Linked DNA regions of Homo sapiens: region 1 is linked to region 2. The links are contacts of gene promoters, found by promoter capture Hi-C in blood cells and fetal thymus (Javierre and others, 2016). All regions are on one chromosome and are shown on one strand. Each heading gives the region's core, a stretch centred on a gene start or on the middle of the fragment in contact. The rest is flanking DNA. Distances are from core to core; before and after follow the strand shown. Region 1 holds the start of IFT27 (intraflagellar transport 27). Region 2 holds the start of MFNG (MFNG O-fucosylpeptide 3-beta-N-acetylglucosaminyltransferase).

What was found. The method cuts DNA at HindIII sites, captures the fragments that hold promoters and counts their contacts. A CHiCAGO score of 5 or more calls a contact.
Region 1: a contact is called between a fragment that was not itself captured here and the fragment with the promoter of MFNG in region 2, in 5 of 17 cell types (fetal thymus, naive CD4 T cells, non-activated CD4 T cells and 2 more). The highest score is 8.1, in fetal thymus.

What each region holds. Positions count from the first base shown.
Region 1 is chr22:36,775,505-36,781,213 of GRCh38, forward strand. It overlaps IFT27 (intraflagellar transport 27), which reads right to left and starts at 615. Exons shown (of 7, transcript NM_001177701.3): 1 at 170-615. The coding sequence starts at 203. RefSeq lists silencers at 177-236, 367-416 and enhancers at 315-878, 657-916, 1,444-2,007. The HindIII fragment of the contact is 727 bases long and covers 888-1,614 here.
Region 2 is chr22:37,483,468-37,488,833 of GRCh38, forward strand. It overlaps MFNG (MFNG O-fucosylpeptide 3-beta-N-acetylglucosaminyltransferase), which reads right to left and starts at 2,917. Exons shown (of 8, transcript NM_002405.4): 1 at 2,456-2,917. The coding sequence starts at 2,710. RefSeq lists enhancers at 1,802-1,861, 2,262-2,311, 2,788-3,297, 3,298-3,809, 3,810-4,319 and 2 more and a silencer at 2,882-3,011. The HindIII fragment of the contact is 3,313 bases long and covers 1-3,298 here.

The sequences.
Region 1 (5,709 bases), core at 1-2,500, 710 kb before region 2:
TCATTCTTCCACGCCTAACGTAATTTACTGTATCAGTAATTGCAGTAACTCGCCTTTGGGAGAGAGAAAGGAAAAGGTAGGCAATTTAGGTGAACAAAAGCTCTGGATGAATTATGAAGGCTCTGGACTCCAGAGACCACCGTATTCAAGCGCAAGTTTTCAGACTCACCTGCCAGGATGCATTTGGCTGCCAGCTTCACCATGGTAACCAACACTCCCGCGAGCCGTACCCAGAGGACAAGAGCGGCTGCTAGAGACGCGAGTGGGTGGGCTTCGGGCCCTGGGCTGGCCTGGGACGGGAAGGTGGGGAGGGGAGGGCTGATCTCAAGGGTCAGTGGCCGCGACGGGACTGGGGATGACCGAGCCCGGCCCTTCTGGGCCGGGGGCGGATATCGGGCGCTGGGGGCGGGTGGGCAGGGGAGGGCTCCAGGTGGGCCCGGCTCGAGGCCTGACACGGCAGTCTGAAAAGGTGCAAGCGAGCGGACACGGCCTGTGCTCCCCGCCCAGCCCCTCAGCACAGCCCTACCCAGAGGGTTCAAGGAAGGACGATCCGGCTCTCCTCCGATCACAAGTACCGGGCCGGATGCACTCTCCAAGCAACCATAGCCCACCTGCCCCGCCTCCTCCTCCTCCTCGCTGACCCTCGATTGGTTGCCGCCAAAAGCTCCCACCCTCAAGGTCTCACAAAAATCCAATGGGAGTAGAGAGCTGGGATAACAGCCTTTTCTTGAGATGCAATTCGTAGAGTTATCAGTTCTTCAAGTTCAGTCTGCTTGACGAGTGGTTGTAATTGACGTCAACCAGCTTTATATCCCGCCCCCGCTGCGCCTGAGAGTCCCGAGATAAAGAAGCCTCCACGTCAAGCAGTCAGAAGCGGTGACAAGAGAAGCTTTCTGATTGGTCAGAGTCTGGCTTGACCCATCTTCGGGAGGAATAGGGATTCGCCACTCCCGCTGTCCTTCTAGAAGTGGGTTCGCCTACAATGGGGCAGGTTGGGCTCTAGGCGGTCTGGAGCGGCGCCTGCGCAGTGGGCCAGGCCGCCGCTGTAGAGGTCGTTTTGACTTGCTCTGACTTCGCGCGGTTCTCGCGGCTTCCCCGGTTCCCGGGTTCTGCACAGCGCGGCTATTAAAGTGCATGGAGAAGTGCAGTCCTTGCCCCGCATCCCGCAGGGAAATCTCATTTTAAAAGCTCAAAGATGTAATGAGCGTTAAAATCTAAAATATGAAGGTGTTTTATTAAAGTGATGTTTGTGAACAAAGGGAGAACAAATACACTTTGATGGGGCTAAGCGGTGAGACTCGGAAACTTGAAGTCGTACTTTGCTCTTAGTCCATTTACTCTCTGCAAAAGGAGAATGCATCACTAACCTCGTTTGCCCGTCACCCAGGGAGGCTCTCTGTACGCGTTTACTGGGTTGGGGGTGCCTCTTGCACGTGGTTAGGGGGTCAGAGACCTAAATCCCTGGCCTGGACAAGTCACCTCATCCCTCAGCCTCAGGATGGGCCTAGGAGAACCCGCCTTGTGGGGTGGTTGTGGAGATGGAAGGAGAGAAACGTATGAGTGCCTGGGAGATAGTAGGTGCACACGTGATTGTGGGGTGGATGGGAGAGCGGAAGCTTATCTGGACAGATTTGGTTTATCATCACTGTCACTGGTTGGCCGAATGTACCCCTTGTTCTCACTTTCTCAGGGCCCCTGGGATTCTGATGGCTGATGCTGAAGGGAAGAGCAGCCCCTCAGCAAAGGTGCCTGTGCGAAAGTTCCACATTCCCTCCAGACACCTAGAACATTCCACCTCTCCGCCACTCTGCATCTCAGAGTGGCTGCCAGCCTTGTGTGGGGGAATAAACACACACACTCTATGAATGGCTGATGGTTTCAGCCCCGAATCCAGAGTAAATGCAAGTTGTCTGAGATGTTCTTTCCTTGGGATTCATTCCTGGCGCTACGGTAAAGGTCTGTTTCTCCTTCATTTCTCGTAACTGCTTTTCTTCTTTGGTGACATCACGTGAGTCTGTCTCAGACATCCAGGTCTGAGTGAGCAAAAAGCCTCTTTCTGGTCTTCTGCCTTCCTCTTGCCGGCTCCCCTCCAGGCCAACCTGTTCACCATGAGTGACCCTGTTAATCCCTTAAAGGACCCCATTTGGTGAGTCACCCTCCCGAGGCAGCTCCACGTAGCTAAGACACAGACACACATCAGGGCAGCCTCCGAAGCCTTGGTTCCTTCATTTTGCGAGGTGGGTAATGACAGAGCCGGAGCATAGCCATCTTGGACAAGCACTGCCATTTTAAAGTTCTCCTTGATCAAAAACGGCCTAAATTCAACCCAAAGGGCATCAGCCTAATGGCTAATGTCAGAATGACCATAAACCACAAGTGACATCTCCAATCAGAAACATTCCAACCCTAAGATAAACCCACCCCCCGACCAGAGACATGCAGCCCCAAGATAACCTCCCCTCTGGTCAGAGAGATGTCAGCCCCAACATAACCCACCCTCAGACCGGAGACATTCCAACCCCACAGTAAACTTCTCCTCCACACAGAAACATTCCAAGCCTGTGGTAAGCTCTCTTGCCCTAAACCCTTAAATACTCTTAGTCTGTAAGAGAGAGCACTCCTGACTGAAATTGGCCAGAAGCCCCTCTCAGGTTTATGCTCCAAAATAAACCTGTATTTAACTGTTGAGCCACTTTTCATGTTTCTTGCCTCTTTCTTTAACTCTTGCAGGTAATAATCACACCTCCCTCCCAGGGCTGTTCTCTGTTCCCCACCCACTGTCTCCCTTTTGTTGCTGCTACTCTGTGTGATTTTAGTCAGCATTATCATAAGAGCATTGTAGAACTTTCTAGAGAGATGGTAAACACTTGTATGGTGAATTCTGTCCCCCTTCACCTCATGGACCCAAGGGCCTTCTATACATTTCTGTGACTGAAGGTAAGCTGAATGAGAGTCACTAGGTTTAAGGTGGTCAGAGAATTTTGGAGCCATGGGGGCTCCTGAGCAATTCGAGTTATCCCATTTCTGAGCAGCTCTAATAGTCACAGCTGGCCTATGTTGACCACAGACTTAAGGCTGGCCTTGTTCTAAGTGATTTTAGGGATTAATTAGTTTAATTTCACATTTACATTTGATATTCACAATAACCATGTATCATCCCCATTTGATAGATGGGGAAACTAGGGCCCAAATGAGATTAAGTGAAACACCGAAGGTCACCTAGCTAGTGAGTAGCAGAGATGGATTTGAACTCCTTCTCACCCTTCCTAAAGAGCAAATACTTATTGAGTTCCTTGCCGTAATAACTTGCGTTGATTGAGCATTAGATGTGAGGCATCTGCTAAGCACTTCACATCCTCTCTCCTGTATGAAACCATGACCCTGGGAAGTGGAAACTCTCATTCATTTGAAGAAAGGAAAGAGCCACAGAGAGGCCAAGGTCATGCAACAAGTCAGCCAGATCCAGAACCAGCCTCAGATCTCTTGACTCTGGGGACCAATGTTTGTTTCTTTGTTTTCCCCCATTATCCAGCATAGTCTCTCCATTTTCATTAATTAGCTTTTCTTGAGTGCCTACCATCAGCCAGGCATGGTGTTGGTTGCTGGATCCACTGAAGGGTGGGGATGACAGAGCCCCAGGCTTTACCTCTGGGTGAGATATCACGGCAATGTGGGAATACGGGCCCAGGGTTGCACACTTTTCTAGAGGAGCCAGGAATCTGGATTTTTGTGTGAAATCCCCTGACCTGTTAGTGTTGGCAATGAACTTAAATTTAAAACACTGTAGCTGCAGTAGAAACCTCTGTTGACCGGTTCAACCTGGGGGCTGCTCATCTACGATCTTTGGTAAAGAAAGGAAGACCAACATGTGGACAAGTCACTGTGCCACAGGTGGATATGGGACTCCCTATGTACACCTCGAGGAGCATTCCTAACCCTGGGTGGATGGAGAGGGAGTCGGGAAGGATATTCTGAAAGGAGAGCCTTGTAGGAATTTGCGAGGTGGACACAGGGGAAGGCAAATGCTGGGTGGATGGGTCAGCACATGCAAAGGCTCAGAGCTCTGGGAGGGCAGCAGATGGAACACACGGTGGAATGGCAAGACCCAGAGTAGAACCCTTGTTTGAGGAATTAATTCAACAAATATTCTGTTGAGTGCTTGCTAAGCACTAGGACGTAGAGGTGGACAGAACCATCTAGCCCAGTGGAGCGGCAGATGATCAAGCAGTAATGATCTATGATTGCATGTAGTCAATGTTGAATAGGGGAGGATGTGGTGCAGAAAGAACAAATACCCTATGCTCTGATCCCTGGACTGGCACACCAGCATCACCTGGGGATTAGTAAGAAATGCATTTTCCCAGGCCCCACCCCTGACCAGCTGAACACTGGAGGTGGAGCCCACAATCTGCTTCCATAAGGCCTCCTGGTGACTCCGACACAAGCTCATGTTGAGAACTGCTTTTCTTAGCTAATGCCAGGACCCACCTTTATCTACTCTATTGGGTCATTTTACTGTTTTTCAAGCTCCTCGGGAACGTTCCCACCGCAGGGCCTTTGTACGCACTGTTCCCAATGAGGCTGTATGACTCTCCTTCATGATCTTCAGATCTCAGCTCAAACGTCATGCCTTCGGGGAGCCCTCCCAAACACACAATTTAAGCATCGCCCCCAATCTGTCAGTCTCAATATCCTTGACTTACTTTACTTTCTTCATAGCGTTCACTACTACCAGAGATTACACAGTCTGTCCCTCTGTATCCGTGGGGGATTGGTAACCATGGATATCAAAATCCAGGGCTACTCAAGTCCCCTATATAAAATGTTGTAATATTTGCACAAAACCTACACACGTCCTCCTGTATACTTTAAGTCACCTCTAGATTACTTTCAATAACTAATACAATGGAAATGCTATAGAAATATTGGTATACTGTATTTTATCTGTATTATTTTTATTGTTGTATTGTTATTTTTTTATTTTTGCAATGTGCAGTTAGTTGAATCCAGAGATGTGGAACCCGTGGATGCAGAGGGCCACCTATATTCCATATTTATTAGTTTATTTATATGGTATCTGTCGCCCTCCACTAGAAGGTAAGCTTCATGAGAACTGACACTTGGTCTCTTTTGTTCACCCAGTATCTAGGACAGTCCCCTGCATGGTGAGGCACCCCGTAAATACTTCTGAATGAATGAATGACTCTCATAGGGTTTACCCTTCCGGTTGTGTATTCATTCATTCAACAAGCACCAACTCTTGAATATCAGTTTTTGGGCAAGCAATGGGCTTACTACTGAGAGATGTGCAATGACCATTCAGATGGGGTAACCTCATCCTGGGTCCTCTCCCACCCCTAGCCTGCACCCCTAGCTACACCCATATGCTCTGTGGAAGAGGAAGTATTAACAGTGCTGCTTCCCAAAGCCAGGGACTAGACTGTTGGGGCTGATTACTGGGGCTTTGGATAAGAGGGGAGTGGAGGGGCAGCTGCTGACAAGTTGTTCCCAGAAATTGTTCAATCATCCTGGGGTTGAACACGTCCCGACATCCCTGAAGAGCAGCATGCGGATGAGCCACGGCTCCCTGCCAGGGACAGCAGCAACATTCCACGCACAGCGCCAGGGCTGATCATCCCCAATGCAGGGCCCAAGCCCCTTTGCCACTGTGTCTTGACAGCCAGGGGGTTCTCCTTCTGCCTGGGCCCC
Region 2 (5,366 bases), core at 1,667-4,166:
CCAAATGGGCTGAGGACTGTTTCCCGGTGAAGATCTAGTAAGCCTGAATAAAGCAGGAGAATAGGCACTTTGGGAGGCCAAGGCAGGTGGATCATTTGAGGCCAGGAGTTCAAGACCAGCCTGGCCAACATGGCAAAACCCCATCTCTACTAAAAATAGAAAAATTAGCCGGGCGTGGTGCGCATGCCTGTAGTCCAAGCTACTCAGGAAGCTGAGGATCACTTGAAACCAGGAGGCGGAGGTTGCAGTGAGCCAGGATCGTGCCACTGCACTCCAGCCTGGAAAACAGAGTGAGACTCTGTCTCAAAATAAACAAAACAAAACACCAGCAGCCATGAACAGAGTGAGGGAGAGAGCCGGGAAGGGGAGTCCAGGTCCAGAGGGGGCGGGGGCACAGGAGAGGGCAGTGAGGCTGGCGCTTTCAGTCCCTGGGAATCCTAAGGTTGGCACAGAGCGATGGGCAGAGTTTCTTTGGAGCCAAGGGCTGCATTTGACTTGTTTAAGGAGGGGACCTGACAATGGTGAAAACTTCACAGGCAGCCGCGGGAAACAAAGGGACACGCAGCCTGCTGGGGCAGGGGAGGGGTGGCCGGGGACCATCTGCTGCAGAGGAGGGGAGTGGTGGGGCTGCTGCCACCTCTCCCCCCAACAAGGGGACCATAGGGAGGAGAAAGGCTCGCCTTGAGCACAAAACCCGCCTCCCCCAGCCCACCCCCTCAGCCCAGGACAAAGGCCGGCACACGAGTCCCGGCCCCTGCCGCAAGGCCCACCTGCCACCCGACCGCCCTTAACCAGCCAGGCGGGCGCCCAGCGCTGCAGTTAACCAGCTCAGGCCCGGTCCAGACACTCCTGCCCCGTGCAGATGGGGAAACTGCGGGCCGAAAGGGGAGGGCCTTGGCTGAGGTCACAGAGAGAAGTGAGCCAAAGGGTGAGAGACGTGGGGTAGCGACTCCTGTAGCCCAGTGACCCAGTCCTCACAGGGTTCCCAAGTCTCAGCAGGGGAGAAAAGCACCCAACCAGGAGCAAGGTTCTAGGTCCCACTGGGCTCTGTCCCCTCAGGCCTTCTGCGTGACACCACGCCAGCCAGCACTTCCTCTCTCTGGCCTCAGTTTCCTCATCCGGGGCAAGGGCACCACCGCGGTGATGGAGATAAGACAGGAAAGGGCCGTGGGCCACGTGAGGCCACGCTCCCGGGTACACAGACGCATAAACAGGAAGGCCTGCGGGAGGGCCCGCCTTGGCTGCTTCCGCAGGAAGAACCAGGATCTCCCCAAGATGAGAAGCCGTGTGGGGCCCAGAGAAGAGCTGAGGTGCTGGGGGCCAGCTGGGGAAGAGTTAATCCCAAGTACGAGGGCAGAAATCAGGGCAGGGTGCCCCTCCCCAGGAGGGCCTGGCCTCTGCCAGCCATCCTCTCCCCCTCCTTTTGGTCTTCCAGGAGGTCTCGACTATCTCCAAAGACTCAGTCACTTCCTCCCACTGAGCCAGCCGCCAAAGAGGGGACCGATGTGTGTGTGTGTGTGTGTGTGTGTGTACCCATTCTCCACCTCCCCCATCAACGGTCCCTAACACCGACATCACTAACTTTGCTTAAGGAAGATACTGGATGCGAGGAGGGAAAGGGCTGGAAGGGACTTGGCTCGCCGGAGCCGCACAGCCATGTGACAGACATGCCTCTTGTCACACACATCTAGCACACTCCAGCTCCGTGCGTGTGAGCACACACACACACACACACACAATCCCACGTGCCAGGCAGGCCTCCCCAACCTCCGGCCCACCACTGCCTCAGCCGCCACCCTCGTGGCATGCGCTCTCCTTCCCTCCCTCGGAAGCAGTCCGCAGGAAGCCAACACAGGAGGCCAGACATGGCGGCCTCGGCACACCCGGGGCAGCAGAGACACAGCGGCAGGGGCTATCGGGAAGGCCGAAGGGATGCCTCCCCCAAGAACAGACCCCACCATTCTCCTCCCGTCCTCCACCCTCAGAGCCCGGGCAGGACAGCACCTAGGGCCTGGGTGGGACAGCCTGGCCTGGGCACGGGTCTGGGTCAGGACCTCTTGGAGGCCTCCACCCCAGCTGCCCAACACCCACCATTACCCCTGATGCCAGGCTGGGCCTGGGTGGCTAGGAGCGAAGCCCCCACGGGAGCGGCTAGGAATAGAAGAACCCCCAGGAGGGACCCGGGAGCCTGGAGCAGGGGCCCAGCCTGGCCCCCAAAAGTGGTGGAGCGGTAGGACCTGGGTGCACCTGGAGTCAGGACCAGTACAGGGCACGGGCAGGGCCGCAGGCAGCCCCTAAAGCCCGGAAGAAGGAGAGAGGAAGAGGATCCCTGATTAGGCAGGTATTGAGCAGCTTCTCCCATGAGGCAGTCAGGGACCCCAGCCCAGTAGAAAGGCCTCTGAGAACCCCTTAGGCCAGGGGCCACCCCCAGGGCCCAATGTCACCCACTTGTCACCTGTTCCCTGGTCCTGGAAACCCACGTGTCAAGCAGCAGCTCCAGGCGCAAGCGGTGGAAAGCCCGGGTCGTCTTCACTGCAATGAAGACATCGTGTAGCTGTAGCTTAGGGGGCCCCGGGTTCGGCTGGCTCAGCTCGGGGGTCCCTTGTACCCGCTGCGGGGACAGGTTCAAGTGGTACCGCAGACACAGGAGCCCCATGCACAGGAGGGTGAGGAGGGCTCCAGCCAGGCCCCGCGGGAGCCGGCACTGCATTGGTTGGCCCTGGGACCCCAGACAGCTCAGCCCCCAAATCCCAACCAGACAGGGAGGGGAAGCTGGTCAGGCAGGGGCTCCAGCAGAGGCAAAAGTCTGGCAGGCATCAGGGGCTGGCAAGGAGGGAAGAGGTAGGAGCTGAGGCTCTGGACCCAGAGGCTGAGCCATGGCAGCACGATCTCGACCGCCGCCAGTCCTCCACCTGCTCCCGCTGTCCGGCCTGCCGCAGCCTCCGGGACCGCCTGGCCCCGCCCCGCTTAGCCCGAGGGGCGGGGCCAGACGAAGGGAACCCCAGACAGAGGCGGCTGAAAGGAGGCACCAGCAGAAAGGGCAGCCCCGGCTCTGCCAGCTGCTGCGGTGGGAGGAAGTCACAACAAACCCTCCGTGCCCGGTGGAAGGGAGTGTCCTCCAGCACCGTCCACTCCCCCAGAGAGCTGTCAGCTCGGCCCATTCAACACCCATTACTTTGGTGTCCTGCTTCACCCAGCCCCCAGCTTTTGCTCACAGGTTTCCTCCGGGATGCTCTCCCATATTCCACCAGCCTCACCCACATTCCCTCCACTAGGCTGAGTTCTATCTGGACTTCAAAGCTTAAGGGTTCCCTCCTCCAGGAAGCCTTCCGTGATAACCTCTTAACCTCTGGGGCTCCCACAGTTGTTCGCTCAGTTCCTGAGGTCTTCACAACAGCACTGGGACTGTCGTTCCCAGTTTATAGCTGAAGACATAAGGCACAAAGGCACAGAATGAGCAAAAACGATCCAGCAACTCAGCCGCAGAGCTGGCAGAACCCAGGTCTCTGTTCCTCATCTAGTTCACAGGAGGTCCCCTGAGGGCACCTGTCCAGCTGTGCCCCAGCCCATACCCGACCTCACTCCGCAGTCTCTGGAGCTGCCTCTCTCCCAGCACCTGACCAGTGGACAGACAGAGGGCCTTCTCCAGCCACCACCTCCATCTTGTTTCGCACAAGCTCACTCACACCTCCTCCCTCCTCCACTCAGAGCCTGCACTGGCTCCCATTTTCTTCAGAACAAAAGCCAAAACGCACACAGCAGCCCACAAGGCCCTGCGTGAGCTGGCTCCCAAGTTACTCCCACCCCATCTCCTGCTACTCACCCTGCTCCACTCCAGAACCTGGGACCCTCGCTGGCCCAGGCACCTGGCCGCCACAGGACCTTGGCACTTGCTGTTCCCACCTGGGCCCCTCCCTAGAGACCTGCACGTCTCACTCCCCCACTCCCTTCTGGTCTTTACACAAAGGTCACCGTCTCTGTGAGGCCTTCCCTGACCACGTTATTAACATTGCAACCCCTCGCCGCCTCCTTCCCAGCCCCCCAGGCCTGTCCCTCTCAAGCCACTTCACTGTTTTCTTCATCACACTTTTCATCTTCCAACATTCTGTATGTTTAACTAAGTTTCTGTCCTCCTCATGAGAATATCAGGGCAGGATTTATTTTTTGATCACTGAGTCCCTAATCCCCAGTGCCTAGAACAGTGACCGGCAGACAAGAACTCAATCAATGTTAATTCAACACAACAAAGTACCAGGTGGCTGGCAAAGGGAAGTGGCCCTGCCGGGCTCAACCCTGCATGAGGACAGCTGGGGGAGAGGAAGGGAAAACCAACCCTTTGAATGACCTTCTCATGGGCCAGCCCCCAGCCAGGCCCCTTCACAGGCCATATTCTCAGAATGGTGATGATGCCAGCCTTGGTGATGATCCCAGACTCTGTACCCCACAGACCAGGTTTAAATCCTGACTGGGGGCTGGGCGCCATGGCTCACGCCTGTACTCCCAGCACTTTGGGAGGCCAAGGCAGGCAGATCACTTGAGGTCAGGAGTTCAAGACCAGCCTGGCCAACATGGTGAAACCCCGTCTCTACCAAAAATACAAAAATTAGCTAGGCATTGTGGCAGGCACCTGTAATCCCAGCTACTAGGGAGGCTGAGGCAGGAGAATCACTTGAACCCGGGAGGCAGAGGTTGCAGTGAGCCGAGATGGCGCCATTGCACTCCAGCCTAGGCAACAAGAGTGAAACTCCATCTCAAAAAAAAAAATTCCCAACTGGGCCACTCACTGGCTGTATGACTCTAGGAAAGTTACCTTCATCATTTCTAAAATGGGGACAAAAATATGACTTGGTGACGATTACAGGATGAGTGGGCTTCTCCACCCCACAGAAAGGATGCTTGACACGGGGAACAGGCAAAGGCAGCCAAGTCACAGGCCCCTGCCTTTCCCCAGGCCAAGCACTGGGCCAGGCTCACTGTGGGGCAGGGGGAGGTTCATGTACCCAAATGCACACAGCCCAGTTTCCATGCCCAGGAAGCCACAGACATCGAGAGACAGCCACACAGACACCCTCGTCCCACCACAAGGCAGAATATGGCATGGGCCAGGAGAAGTCCCAAGGGCTGGGAGGACCTGGTGGTGGGTTTCATGGAGATACGTAATATCTCAGCCAGGCTTCAAAGATCAGGAAGATTCAGGCAGGGAGAGCAGCCCAGGCAGGGGCCACATGAGCAGAGGAGCACAGCTAAGGGTAAACTGAAAGGCCACTGCCACTGCCCGCGGTGGGGAGGATGTGGCTGGGGGGATGGGAGAGTCAACACCTGGGAAGGCCTGGAGTAGAAAGCGGCATTGCCGCTGATTCCCATGC